Linked DNA regions of Homo sapiens: regions 1 and 2 are each linked to region 3. The links are contacts of gene promoters, found by promoter capture Hi-C in blood cells and fetal thymus (Javierre and others, 2016). All regions are on one chromosome and are shown on one strand. The core of a region is centred on a gene start or on the middle of the fragment in contact, and the rest is flanking DNA. Distances in the headings are between cores, read along the strand shown.

Region 1 (3,531 bases), core at 844-3,343, 3.0 Mb before region 3:
CCGCAGTACCGTGTAGCGATCATAGCTCACTGCAGCCTCAAAGTCCTGGACTCAAGTAATCCTTAAATCTCATCTTCCCCAGTAGCCGGGGACTATAGGTGTGCTCCACCGTGCCCGGGTCATTTTTTTTTTTTTTTCCGAGACAGTCTGGCTCTGTCGCCCAGGCTGGAATGCAGTGGCCTGATCAAGGCTCACTGCAACTTTTAACTCCATGGGCTTAAGTGATCTTCCTGCCTTAGCCTCTTGAGTACCTGGGACTACAGGCATGCGCCACCACGTGTGGCTAGTTTTTTTCTTTGTAGAGAGGAGGTCTCACTATATTGCCCAGGCTGGTATCAAACTCCTGGGCTCAAGGGTGAGTCATAGCATCTGGCCTGTATATTTTTGTGGAGAGGGGGGTCTTGCTTTGTTGCCCAGGATGGTCTGGAATGTCTTGGCTCAATCTATTCTGCCTCGGCCTCCCAAAGTGCTGGGATTACAGACGCGAGCCACTGTGTCCGGCCCAGCTTGACTTTAGAATCAGTTAAGTTCTTTAGTTAAAAAAGTTAATTTGGGCCAGGCGCAGTGGCTCACGCCTGTAATCCCAGCACTCTGGGAGGCTGAGGCGGGCGGATCACGAGGTCAGGAGATCGAGACCATGCTGGCTAACATGGTGAAACCCCATCTCTACTAAAAAATACAAAAAATTAGCCGGGCGTGGTGGCGGGCGCCTGTAGTCTCAGCTACTCGGGAGGCTGAGGCAGGAGAATGGCGTGAACCCAGGAGGTGAAGCTTGCAGCGAGCCGAGATTGTGCCACTGCACTCCAGCCTGGGCGACAGAGCGAGACTCCGTCTCAAAAAAAAAAAAAAGTTAATTTGTGAGGAAACTGAAAATTCAATTATTTTTCAGAAAGCAATGTTTTTGTTAAACAGAAATTAACCAAATAAAACGAAATCCTTACAGTAAACTTCAATCCCAGCAAGACTTAAAGTATTTCTGCTTTGCAGTCATTCCTGCCATGTAGAACACTTCCCCAGGCCCAACACCCCACAACACCTGGGGCCTTACCTCTACCTGGGGACTGACCACATTATAATTAAGAAGGCTTAACTCACGATGAAGGGGACTGCTCTAGTGGACGAGTTGGGCCGATCCCTTTATTGACTCCGTTAGGATGGGAGATGGGGGTTGGAGGGATAGGCGTTAGGGGTATAAAGGGGCCAGCTTGGGAATCAAACCCTACTTCCAGAGTCCCTTCGGGCTTTGAACATGCCAGAAACATTTTCCCTGCTTAGAGCACTGTGCTGAATTTTGTTAAACTTGTGATTAAATCGTCATGAAAGCTTACACGTGCATTTAAAAATTATTCAGATATGCACCATTAGGGATAATCAGGCTAATAGTACCAGACCTTGAGTTCATTGAGGACTGGATTAGTCCCTTAAGTATCGTGGTAAATGTTAATTGAACAAATTCCAAGTTTATAGCCACCCACTTTCTGTCATATCAGCATTTCAGTTATTGAAAAATTAAGTTCTAGCTTTTCTTTTAAGGAACTTTAAAAATCACAAGTTCGAATTTTAAAAAGGAATCCTAAGACATTTTTCCTCGTCTGCTGACATATTTCCACAGCAAATGCTAAACTAATAGCTAGGCTATTATTAGGTGATTTTGCCATCTTAAAATCTTTTGGTTTCTGAGTTCGAGGAAAGGCGTTGGGGGCAAATATGTAAGAGAGGCTGTGAGGGATGTAATACTGCAAACGCTAACGTTTTGTTTTCATAGTTGTTTGGCCACCTCGCGAGATCCAGTGAACCGGAGGAGTTCCTGTTTTTCCCTTTTAATTTTTGTCAATCTAATCTTCAAAGTCAACAAAGCTAAAATCGAGCACCCAGGTGGTTCACCTCCCCAGAGGGGCTCAGATCATGAAATAAACGCCACCAAAAAAACGCTGGAAGAGGCAGCCCACAGTGAAAAGTCCCAGGAAGTGATTTCCGGTCGAAGGTGGGAGGGGCGGCTGATTTCCGGTCGAAGGGCAGGCGACGGCTCTTGCGCAAGCGCGCTTCGCACTTTGCGGGCTTTTTTTTTTTTTTTTTTTTTTTTTTTTTTTTCCTTTCCCCTCCCCCTCCCTCTCCAAGCCGGAGGGGTCCTGAGGTGACAGCGCCTGCAACTGAAATTTCAGCAGCGGGAGAAGATGGACAAGAGAAAGCTCGGGCGACGGCCATCTTCATCCGGTGAGAAAGGGTCAGAGAAGGGCTGAACATATTGTCTCCTACCCGGGGGAAACGGGAGGCGCAGGCGGCAGCTGGGGTTGCGGCCCGAAGCCGCGGGGGCGAGGGCGGGGGCGGGGAGAGGAAGGGGCGCGCACAATGGAAGGCTCCCGGGTCGCCCCCGCCCCTGGAGTCGAAGACCCGGTCCGAGCTGTCATCGAAGCCTCGGGCGCTCTTCACCTCAAAACCCCTTTTATTTTTTCCCTCCTCCCGCGAACACCCTCCTTGCGTCTCATCGGCCCATGGATCTTCCCGGTTGGCTTGTCACTCTCTGCCACGCCTTCCTCGTAATTCCACCAATGTTCCAATTTCATTTCGGCTTCTCAGCGCCTGACCCCACTTTCCTCTCTTCCTTTGATTCTCGACTTTGCGTCCCTTCCCCTCTCCCTCCTCTTTCCCTCAGCAGGTAGCTGCTGCTGGGGAGGAAAGGTGGGGCTTGCGACCGGAGACTCCTTTTCTTTGATACAATGCCTCTCCGGGTCTCGTTCTGCTGAACAGGCCCGCCTAATAGCCTTTTTCTTTTCCAGCCTACCCTGCGTCTTCCAAAAGTGATTGGAAAGTCAAACAAAGGATTTGAAGCCGTGCTTTCGTTGTGTTTTTATTTTCAGCATATTTTTTGTTTTGGACGTTACTTTGTTTTAAATGACTATCTTCAGTTTTGTGTACAACGTCTTGGAAACAAGAAAGTGGAGTTATAAAAACGTGAGGTAGAGCTCCTCCCAGTTGAGAAGTTTTTATCAAACATTTCATCCATTAGGGGGTCCTCAAGTCCTTGTGTTAAGTCCTATGGATGGTAGGAGGAGAGGACGAGGACTCATATGCTTACAGTCCAGTACACAAACGAACGCCCAATGAATCAATTATTTCATTTCATTTTTCTGTTTCTGATGGTACCGTTGGTTTCTGCAGAGACAGTTAACAATTACAGATTTATTGGCCGGGCGCGGTGGCTCACGCCTGTAATGCCAACACCTTGGGAGGCCGAGGCGGTCGGATCACAAAGTCAGGAGATCGAGACCATCCTGGCTAACATTGTGAAACCCCGTCTCTACTAAAAAATGCAAAAAATTAGCCGGGCGTGGTGGCGGGCGCCTGTAGTCCCAGCTACTCAGGAGGCTGAGGCAGGAGAATGGCGTGAACCCGGGAGGCGGAGCTTGCAGTGAGCCGAGATCGCACCACTGCACTCCAGCCTGGGCAACAGAGCGAGACTCTGTATCAAACAACAACAACAACAAAAAAAAAACAAAAAAAACCAATTCCAAATTTATTTAGGAGTGCCCT
Region 2 (3,749 bases), core at 697-3,196, 2.2 Mb before region 3:
AATTCCCTTTTGGCCAGGCGTGGTGGCTCATATCTGTAATCCCTGCACTTTGGGAGGCCGAGGCAGGCAGATCACAAGGTCAGGAGATCGAGACCATCCTGGCTAACACGGTGAAACCCCGTCTCTACTAAAAATACAAAAACAAATTAGCCGGGCGTGGTGGCAGGTGCCTGTAGTCCCAGCTACTCGGGAAGCTGAGATGGGAGAATGGGGTGAGCCCCGGAGGCGGAGCTTGCAGTGAGCTGAGATCGCACCACTGCCCTCCAGCCTGGGCAACAGTGAGAGACTCTGCCTCACAAAAAAGAATTCCCTTTTATTCATAGTTTGCTACGACTTTTCAACATGATTGAGATATGAATGGCTTTTCTTTATCTAGAGATGATCTAGTTTTTCTCCTTTAATCTGTTTTATGGAAAATAGTATGTGATTTTCTAATTTAAAGCAATCTTAGACTCCTTGGGTGAGCAATTTTGACACTGGTGTGTTTAAATATTCACTGATGAGTTTGATTTGTAAATATTACTTAATATTTTCTATCTATGTTCATACGTGACACTGGTTTGCATTTTCCTTGGCTGGTTTTCATGTTAATGTTATATTAACCCCACAAAATGAATTAGTGTATATTCCCTCTTTGCCTATGCTCTTGAATAGTTTGTATAATTTAGAATCATCTGTTCCTTAGATATTTGGTAAAATAGTTGGCCCAATTTCTTTAATGTTAATTGGGGCAACCAATTTTTCTACTTCTTGAAACAGTACATTAAATTTACCTAGGATACTGTCCATGTCACCTGAGTTTTCAAATTTAAATAAAGGAATTCATGGTATATATAAATTTTTAAAGTTTCTACTATAAACTTCATTTCTAACATTGCTTATTTGTGCCTTGTTTCTCCTTAACTAATCCTCATAAAGATTTGCCAACTGCATCTTTTCAAAATTGTTGATCCTAACAATTCCAATTTCTAGTTCACGTCTGCTCTTATTATTTCCTTCCAAGTTATTTGAGGTTTGTCCTTTTGTAACTGTTTGAATACCTTGCTCAAAAATTTCCAATCCAGTTTACTAATATAAAGTATTTAAGGCTGTAAGTACTACTCTAAGTACAGCTTTAGCATTCTCTAAAAACTTGGTTACATAGAAGTCATTATCTACTTATTTATAATTCCCATTATTATTTCTTCTTTGACTTATTTAAAACCATATTTTGTCTCCAAAAGTAGGGAAATTTGGGTTACATATTCTGTCCAATAGTCTCTAAAGAAGCCAGAGAATATGACCTTTAAGATATCTAATTATCTGTTACATTTTGGGATTTTCTGGAAGACTTGACTTACAGTCAACTTCTATAATGCACTATGAGTACTCGAAAAAAAAAAAAACTGTATTTCTCCCTAACTGCTAGATGTACAAGACCAACGCTGTTTGAGCCTGCTTGATTTATCGGCTCTCCCATAATTGTAAATTTATTGATTTCTCTTTGTTCTGTCAATTTTTCTTAGGGGAAAACATCTAAAGCTAACATGCATAAGTGTTCAGATTGCTATATAGTCCTAGTGAATTATTCTTTTTATCATCATAAAGTGACTATTACTACTCAAGTTTTTATATAAGTCTATTCTGTTAATAACCAGCTTTCTTTGCATTTGTCTAGTCTCTTTTCCTAGCCCTTTACTTTCAAGCTTTGCATAATAATCTTTTATGTCTCTTGGAAGTAGCATGGAACTGGATTTTTTTTAAAATTCCATTAAGAGATTATTTTAACCGATATATGTAGTCAATTTCTGTGTACTGTGATTAGTATTCTGTTCTATCTATTGAGCTTTCTACCTCTTTTATTCCGCCACCACTTTCTACTGAACTGAACAGGTACCCTTGTTTTCTTTTTTTCTCCTTTCCTGACAATGTCTAATTTTTCAATTATAACTCTTACATGTACACCATGCATACTTCTGCATATGTAGTATGCAATTAAAAAAATCTAAAGGTAATTACAATGTTCCTCCCAAATAAGTCCTTAAAATATTTTTATTCCTATCATCCCTTCCTTTCTTACATATTATTGCCCAGTATTTTTGTCCCAAATTGTTTTTATTCCCTAAGACTATTAATTTTGTAACAATCAATGCTCATTAAAACGTACACATAAATTTCATTGGTGCTTCCCAATCCCCTGACAGCCCAAGGTTTAAGAGTTAAGCTTCCTTGACTTTTTCTGTATCAATGGAAAAGCTTTTCTAAAATAGTTTTTGAAAGCATAGCCTACTGACCAAGCAACAGTTTATCTGCTCACATTGCTTCTTGCATCTTTCACCACCTTCTGGACTAAATTTCCTTCTTGATGAAGACCACTGTTAAAAATTATTTTAACAAGGGTCCATGAGTGGTAAATTCTCAGTCTTTCAAAGTATTTTTACTTCTCCTCATTCGTGAAATTTAGTGGAGTATAGGATGCTACTTTTCTAGTTATTTTTCTTTACTGTTTGCAACTGTGATAATACTGTCTTTTAGCCTCTATTATTACTATGAAGAAGTCTACTAACAGTCTAATTGTTTCATATGTGATCAGTCTTATTCTCTCTGGCTACTTTTAAGGTAATCTCTCTGTCTTAAGACATTTTCCAGTTTCATGACAATATGTCCAGTGGGGATTTACTTTTACTTATCCCTGCTCAAGGCTCCCCGTGCCTTCTGAATCTGAGGGTCTATAGCTTTTATATAACTCTGAAAATTTCTTTAGTCATTACCTCAATGTATTTCCACTCTCCCATTCTCTCCTTCTTGAAACTCTGAATAGAAATATTCTGGATGTTCTCATTTTCAACTTCTCTTTTGCCTGTGTTTTTGTGCTTTACTCTGTAATTTCTTTGGATTTCCTTTTCAGTTCACTAATTCTCTTTTTAGCTATGACTAATGTGTTTAACCTATCCACTTAGTATTTAATTTCAATGATTATATTTCTCATTTCCAAGTTACTTTAAGTTCTTTATAAAATCTGTTTATTGTTTTTCCATAATACAATAGCATCTTGCTCTTATGTTCTCGTTTTGTTTTGTTTTTTCTGAGATGGAGTCTCACTCTGTCACCCAGGCTGGAGTGCAGTGGCGCGATCTCGACTCACTGCAACCTCCACCTCCCAGGTTCAAGCAATTCTCCTGCCTCAGCCTCTCAAGTAGCTGGGACTACAGGCACACACCACTACAGCTGGCTAATTTTTTGCATTTCAGTAGAGATAGGGTTTTACCGTGTTGCTCAGGCTGGTCGCGAACTCCTGCACTCAGGCAATCCGCCCGCCTTGGCCTCCCAAAGTGCTGGAATTACAGGCGTGAGCCACCACGGCCGGCTGCTTTTATATTCTTATTCCTTCTTCTATGTCTTAAATAACTTTTAATTTTGTAGACTATCACATATCTTAACTGAAGTTGTTGAAAATCTAATCCTGCTATTAGTTGTGTCCAGTGGTTCTTGCTTACCTGACAGCTTCATGTGTCTTACGGTTTTGTCTGTGAGAAACCTATGTGACCTGGATTGAGAATATACCCCTCAAGAGAGATTTTGGCCTTTCTTCTGAGATTTTTCTAAAATGGTAACATCTGGGCTTGGGAGTTACCAAACTACATGGATAGTTTAAATTTAAACCCAACTCACCTAAGGACCACAATTATGAATCCTGAAGGGAGACTTCCCAAGCCCCTGACGGCCCAAGGTATAAGAGTTAAGCTTCCTTGACTTTCCCTGTATCAAGG
Region 3 (4,107 bases), core at 935-3,434:
TTTGGTAGTGAAGGAGTTGAAATGAACCAGCCACACTGATTTGAACTGTATTAGAATACAAAAAAAAAAAAAAAAAAAGACTGTTCTCACTAAGCTTACTCAAATATTATATTCAACAAATATTTGCAAATACTAATAACTTAATGATTCTTTCCTAAACCTCAGGTCCTGTGCTGGGCGTTTTATATGTTTTTCTCAATCTTCACAATGATCATGTGGGATAGATGCTACTGTCAACATCCATATTTTGGAGAAAAGACAACCGAGACTTAAAGAAGGTTAATTCTCCAAAGTCACAAAATGAGTATATTCAAGTGTGTTACCATGGTAGTCAGTTACTCTAATATCCAAGTTTGCTACCAAGTCAGTTACTCTCTCTAGTTCCTTTATCTGTAGACTGAAGTTGTTTCTTCTCTCTCCTTTAAACTTCTCTTTTGCCTGGTTTACTGACCACATGATCTCAGTGGAGAGGTAAATCTGAAAGTGGGGAATTTCTTTTTTTGAGGCAGAGTCTTGTTCTGTCGCCCAGGCTGGAGTGCAGTGGCGTGATCTTGGCTCACTGCAAGCTCCGCCTCCCGGGTTCATGCCATTCTCCTGCCTCAGCCTCCCAAGTAGCTGGGACCACAAGCGCCTACCAACACGCCTGGCTAATTTTTTTGTATTTTTAGTAGAGACGGGGTTTCACCGTGTTAGCCAGGATGGTCTCGATCTCCCGACCTCGTGATCTGCCGCCTCGGCCTCCCAAAGTGCTGGGATTACAGGCGTGAGCCACCATGCCCGGCGGAAAATAGGGGATTTCTAATGAAGGCCAATGGATGAAGACATTTCCTGGAGTATAAGGGCATTTATGTGTCTTACTACACATTGACAATTTGCCTGTGCCTCTCCATCACTTTCTCTAGTTGGTGCCTCTGACAAATTTTTTTTTGATTATATGCTGTATATGAAAATCCAGAGTCATGTTTGAATATATTTGGCTACTACCTTATTATGTGCTGCATATGAATATCAGTTTCACCCACTCAGGTCAAAGAAATGTAAGTACAGATAGAGAAACATATCATGCCTTTAATCTGTCAAAGTGGTAGAAATTTAATATCAACTTGCAGCTCCCATCTTTCTCCTATGCTAAATTACAAGGCATTAGGGGACAGAGTGGGGGTTTGAGAGCCCCTCTGGTCCTTGAGTCAGCTTTCTCTGTCGGTTACTGTTGAGAAATCCACCATTTGCTGGTCCCAGGCCACGTTAATAGTTCCACTCATGTTATTGTTAAGATGTCCCTGCTTCCTGTCCATGAATTTCTGTGTTAAACCTGAGGGTTCAGAATCATTGTTGCCCCTGTGCCACACATCATCTGCAATCTCCAATGCTGTCCATGACCTTATCTGCTTGAGTGATGTTCCCCAAATTTCAGTCTTTTTCCTACTATACCCACAATTTTTTATTCATTTTTTGACATATCTGGTATCCTCAGTATTATTAACTTAATAGTTTTTAAAATAAGTGAAAAGAATTTAAAAGGAACAACATTGCTGCAATAGAAAACTAGTATCACTTGTCATAAAAAGAAGGCAGCTACAAACACATTTTATGAAACCCAAATAATATCATTACATTCTTGATGGATACTGTCTGCCAGGTCACATACTTCTTAGCCTAAACTTATGCAATAAAACCAGAAGGATGCTCTGCTCCAATGGGAGGGATTCTGGGAGAGGGAAATAAAATGGGTCAACGTTTCACAAGTAGAATCCCATTTTTGTTCATTTATACTTAGATCTAGAGGCAGGGTGGTGTGATAGGGAAAGCACAGGCCTAAAAGTCAGATCTAAGTTATACAAGTCACGGTCATTGACTCGAGATGACCGGAAACAGGCCCGCTTTACTTTCTGGACCATTCTCCCTTCCTCCCTAAAATGCAAGAATCCAACAGCCTAGACTTCCCTTCTGCGTACCGGCTTGCCCTGAGGAGCTGAACTACATCTCCCACAATGCGCCGCGCGCGGCGCCAGGAATGCCTATCGCCGCCTCAGACAGCTTTCAGTCTGTCCCTCCTACAACTCCCACAAGGCCCCTCGGCCCCGGGCCGCGGCCCGGCCCGGAGTGGGGGCGGGCGGAGGCGCGGGAGTTATGGAGGGGGCGGGCTCTGCAGGGAAGTGCGTCAGAGGAGGCGCGGGGAGAGTAGGGTGCTGTGGTCTGAGCTAGAGGGTGAAGCTGGCGGAGCAGGAGGATGGGCGGTGAGTGAGCGGGACCTGCGTCGCCGGGCAGGGGTCGCGTCGCGGTTCCATGTTCCCGGCGGTTTGAAGAGGGGCCCCCTTCCCGGGCGTGGTCGGGCTGGGCGGGTTCCGAGCGGCGGATTTGTCCCAGGGCCGAGCCCTCTAGGGCGGGGCCTGGTCGGGTACCGGGGGACCCTGGCCCGGGGCCGAGCACGGCTGCCCCGCCCCAGCCCTGGCCTTCTCCGGCCCCGCCGTGAGGCCCAGGAGGTGGCTGCTGCAGGCGTCCGGCTTGGACGAACCGCCGTTCCCAGTGCTGGGACCCTTTAAGGTCATTTGAGAGCACCAGGATGAAGGGGGGATTTTTAAAAAATCAAAATACAAATCCAACTTTTTGAGTTTTCGTTGTCATTGCTCTTATCTTTCCTGAGTCACTTCCCATTTTCCAAACTCAGCAACCCCAGTTTGCGAGTCTGTTTTCATGAACCTTTGTAAGGTGTTTGGTGCGGTCACGGTGTATACTTGCCGTGTAGTATTTGACTCAGCGCGATCTGCCTTGAGTCATTTTACCGCGGCCATTTACTACTGCCGTTGAGCCCTGTCCACGCCTTGGGAGTGTTGATATGTTGAGAGTTTTCTGTCTGGCTGAGGAGGGATCATTTAGTTTTTGCGGACGTATGTTGCACTGAGGATTTAGGGAGAGAGCAAGATTTCTGTTGAGGAGGTTCAGAAGTATAAGGAATCGGGAGAGTAGATAGGAGTGAAGCATTTGGCAGCGTAAAGAAGCTTGGCTTAGCTTTAATGGATTAGGGAGAGATTGCTATCTAGCATTATTACATGTTATTGTTCTCTTTGCTATTTTATACACCTAGAACAACCTTTCCCTCGGGGTTAACAAACATCTTCAACTCTGTTTTCTGTATGGCTCCTGACTCTTACCTTTGTTTTAGGAGGCTTCCCTCTTCAGAGGAAACTGGGAGAAGCCAATTTCCACTGCTTCTTTTTCCTGTGCCTTTTTAACACTCAAACCCAGAACACTTAATCCTCTGCAGCTCGTGCAAAAATTCAGTCTGTAATTTAAAATGTGTGCACGGTACACTGCTGACCATGGGCATGTCTATTGTTTGTATCTGTAATGTGTATGTCCATTTCAGTGTTGTCTGTTTTAGTATGCAGGTGATAGACTAGAGAACAAGACCTCTGTCTCCGTAGCATCCTGGGTATGTGAGCATTCAATAAGTACTTTTATGAGAATGAGTTTTGTTTTAAGCTTAATTAAAAACATGCTTGCTTTCTAAAAAAAATTCTTAATGGTTATATGTACGAAGGGATGGGGAATTGGGTAAAGGGTGCATTTGGAATAATTCAAAATAATCTTTCTTATTTGTCCGTAAACTCTAACTTATCTTCTTTCTTCAACTTCTAAACAGAGCAGTCTGAATGCCAGAATGGATAACCGTTTTGCTACAGCATTTGTAATTGCTTGTGTGCTTAGCCTCATTTCCACCATCTACATGGCAGCCTCCATTGGCACAGACTTCTGGTATGAATATCGAAGTCCAGTTCAAGAAAATTCCAGTGATTTGAATAAAAGCATCTGGGATGAATTCATTAGTGATGAGGCAGATGAAAAGACTTATAATGATGCACTTTTTCGATACAATGGCACAGTGGGATTGTGGAGACGGTGTATCACCATACCCAAAAACATGCATTGGTATAGCCCACCAGAAAGGACAGGTATTTCTCTTATTTTAACTTCTGTCTTCTTCACCTGGTTAATAATAGACAAAACGACGTAATGATTGCCCAATTACATGTAAGCAGGTTTGTTGGTTCTCTCTCTCCTTAAAGAAATAAATCGTGTATCTTCTCTTTCTACTGCCTTCTCTCC

Evidence for each region. The method cuts DNA at HindIII sites, captures the fragments that hold promoters and counts their contacts. A CHiCAGO score of 5 or more calls a contact.
Region 1: the fragment with the promoter of SENP7 here is called in contact with the fragment with the promoter of CLDND1 in region 3 in 1 of 17 cell types (total B cells); the score reaches 5.3 in total B cells.
Region 2: a contact is called between a fragment that was not itself captured here and the fragment with the promoter of CLDND1 in region 3, in 2 of 17 cell types (total B cells and non-activated CD4 T cells). The highest score is 6.3, in total B cells.

What each region holds. Positions count from the first base shown.
Region 1 is chr3:101,511,774-101,515,304 of GRCh38, reverse strand. SENP7 (SUMO specific peptidase 7) reads left to right here and starts at 2,093. Exons shown (of 24, transcript NM_020654.5): 1 at 2,093-2,214. The coding sequence starts at 2,175. The HindIII fragment of the contact is 4,750 bases long and covers 1,326-3,531 here.
Region 2 is chr3:100,721,468-100,725,216 of GRCh38, reverse strand. All of the region lies in intron 3 of TFG (trafficking from ER to golgi regulator), which reads right to left. Among named protein-coding and RNA genes, the nearest start is that of TFG, 14 kb to the right of the region's middle. The HindIII fragment of the contact is 518 bases long and covers 1,688-2,205 here.
Region 3 is chr3:98,520,979-98,525,085 of GRCh38, reverse strand. CLDND1 (claudin domain containing 1) reads left to right here and starts at 2,184. Exons shown (of 5, transcript NM_001040181.2): 1 at 2,184-2,237; 2 at 3,644-3,953. The coding sequence starts at 3,662. It overlaps CLDND1-AS1 (CLDND1 antisense RNA 1), which reads right to left and starts at 2,516. Exons shown (of 2, transcript NR_198998.1): 1 at 2,253-2,516. It also overlaps the pseudogene RPL38P4. RefSeq lists an enhancer at 606-735 and silencers at 1,938-2,577, 2,628-2,737. The HindIII fragment of the contact is 2,905 bases long and covers 97-3,001 here.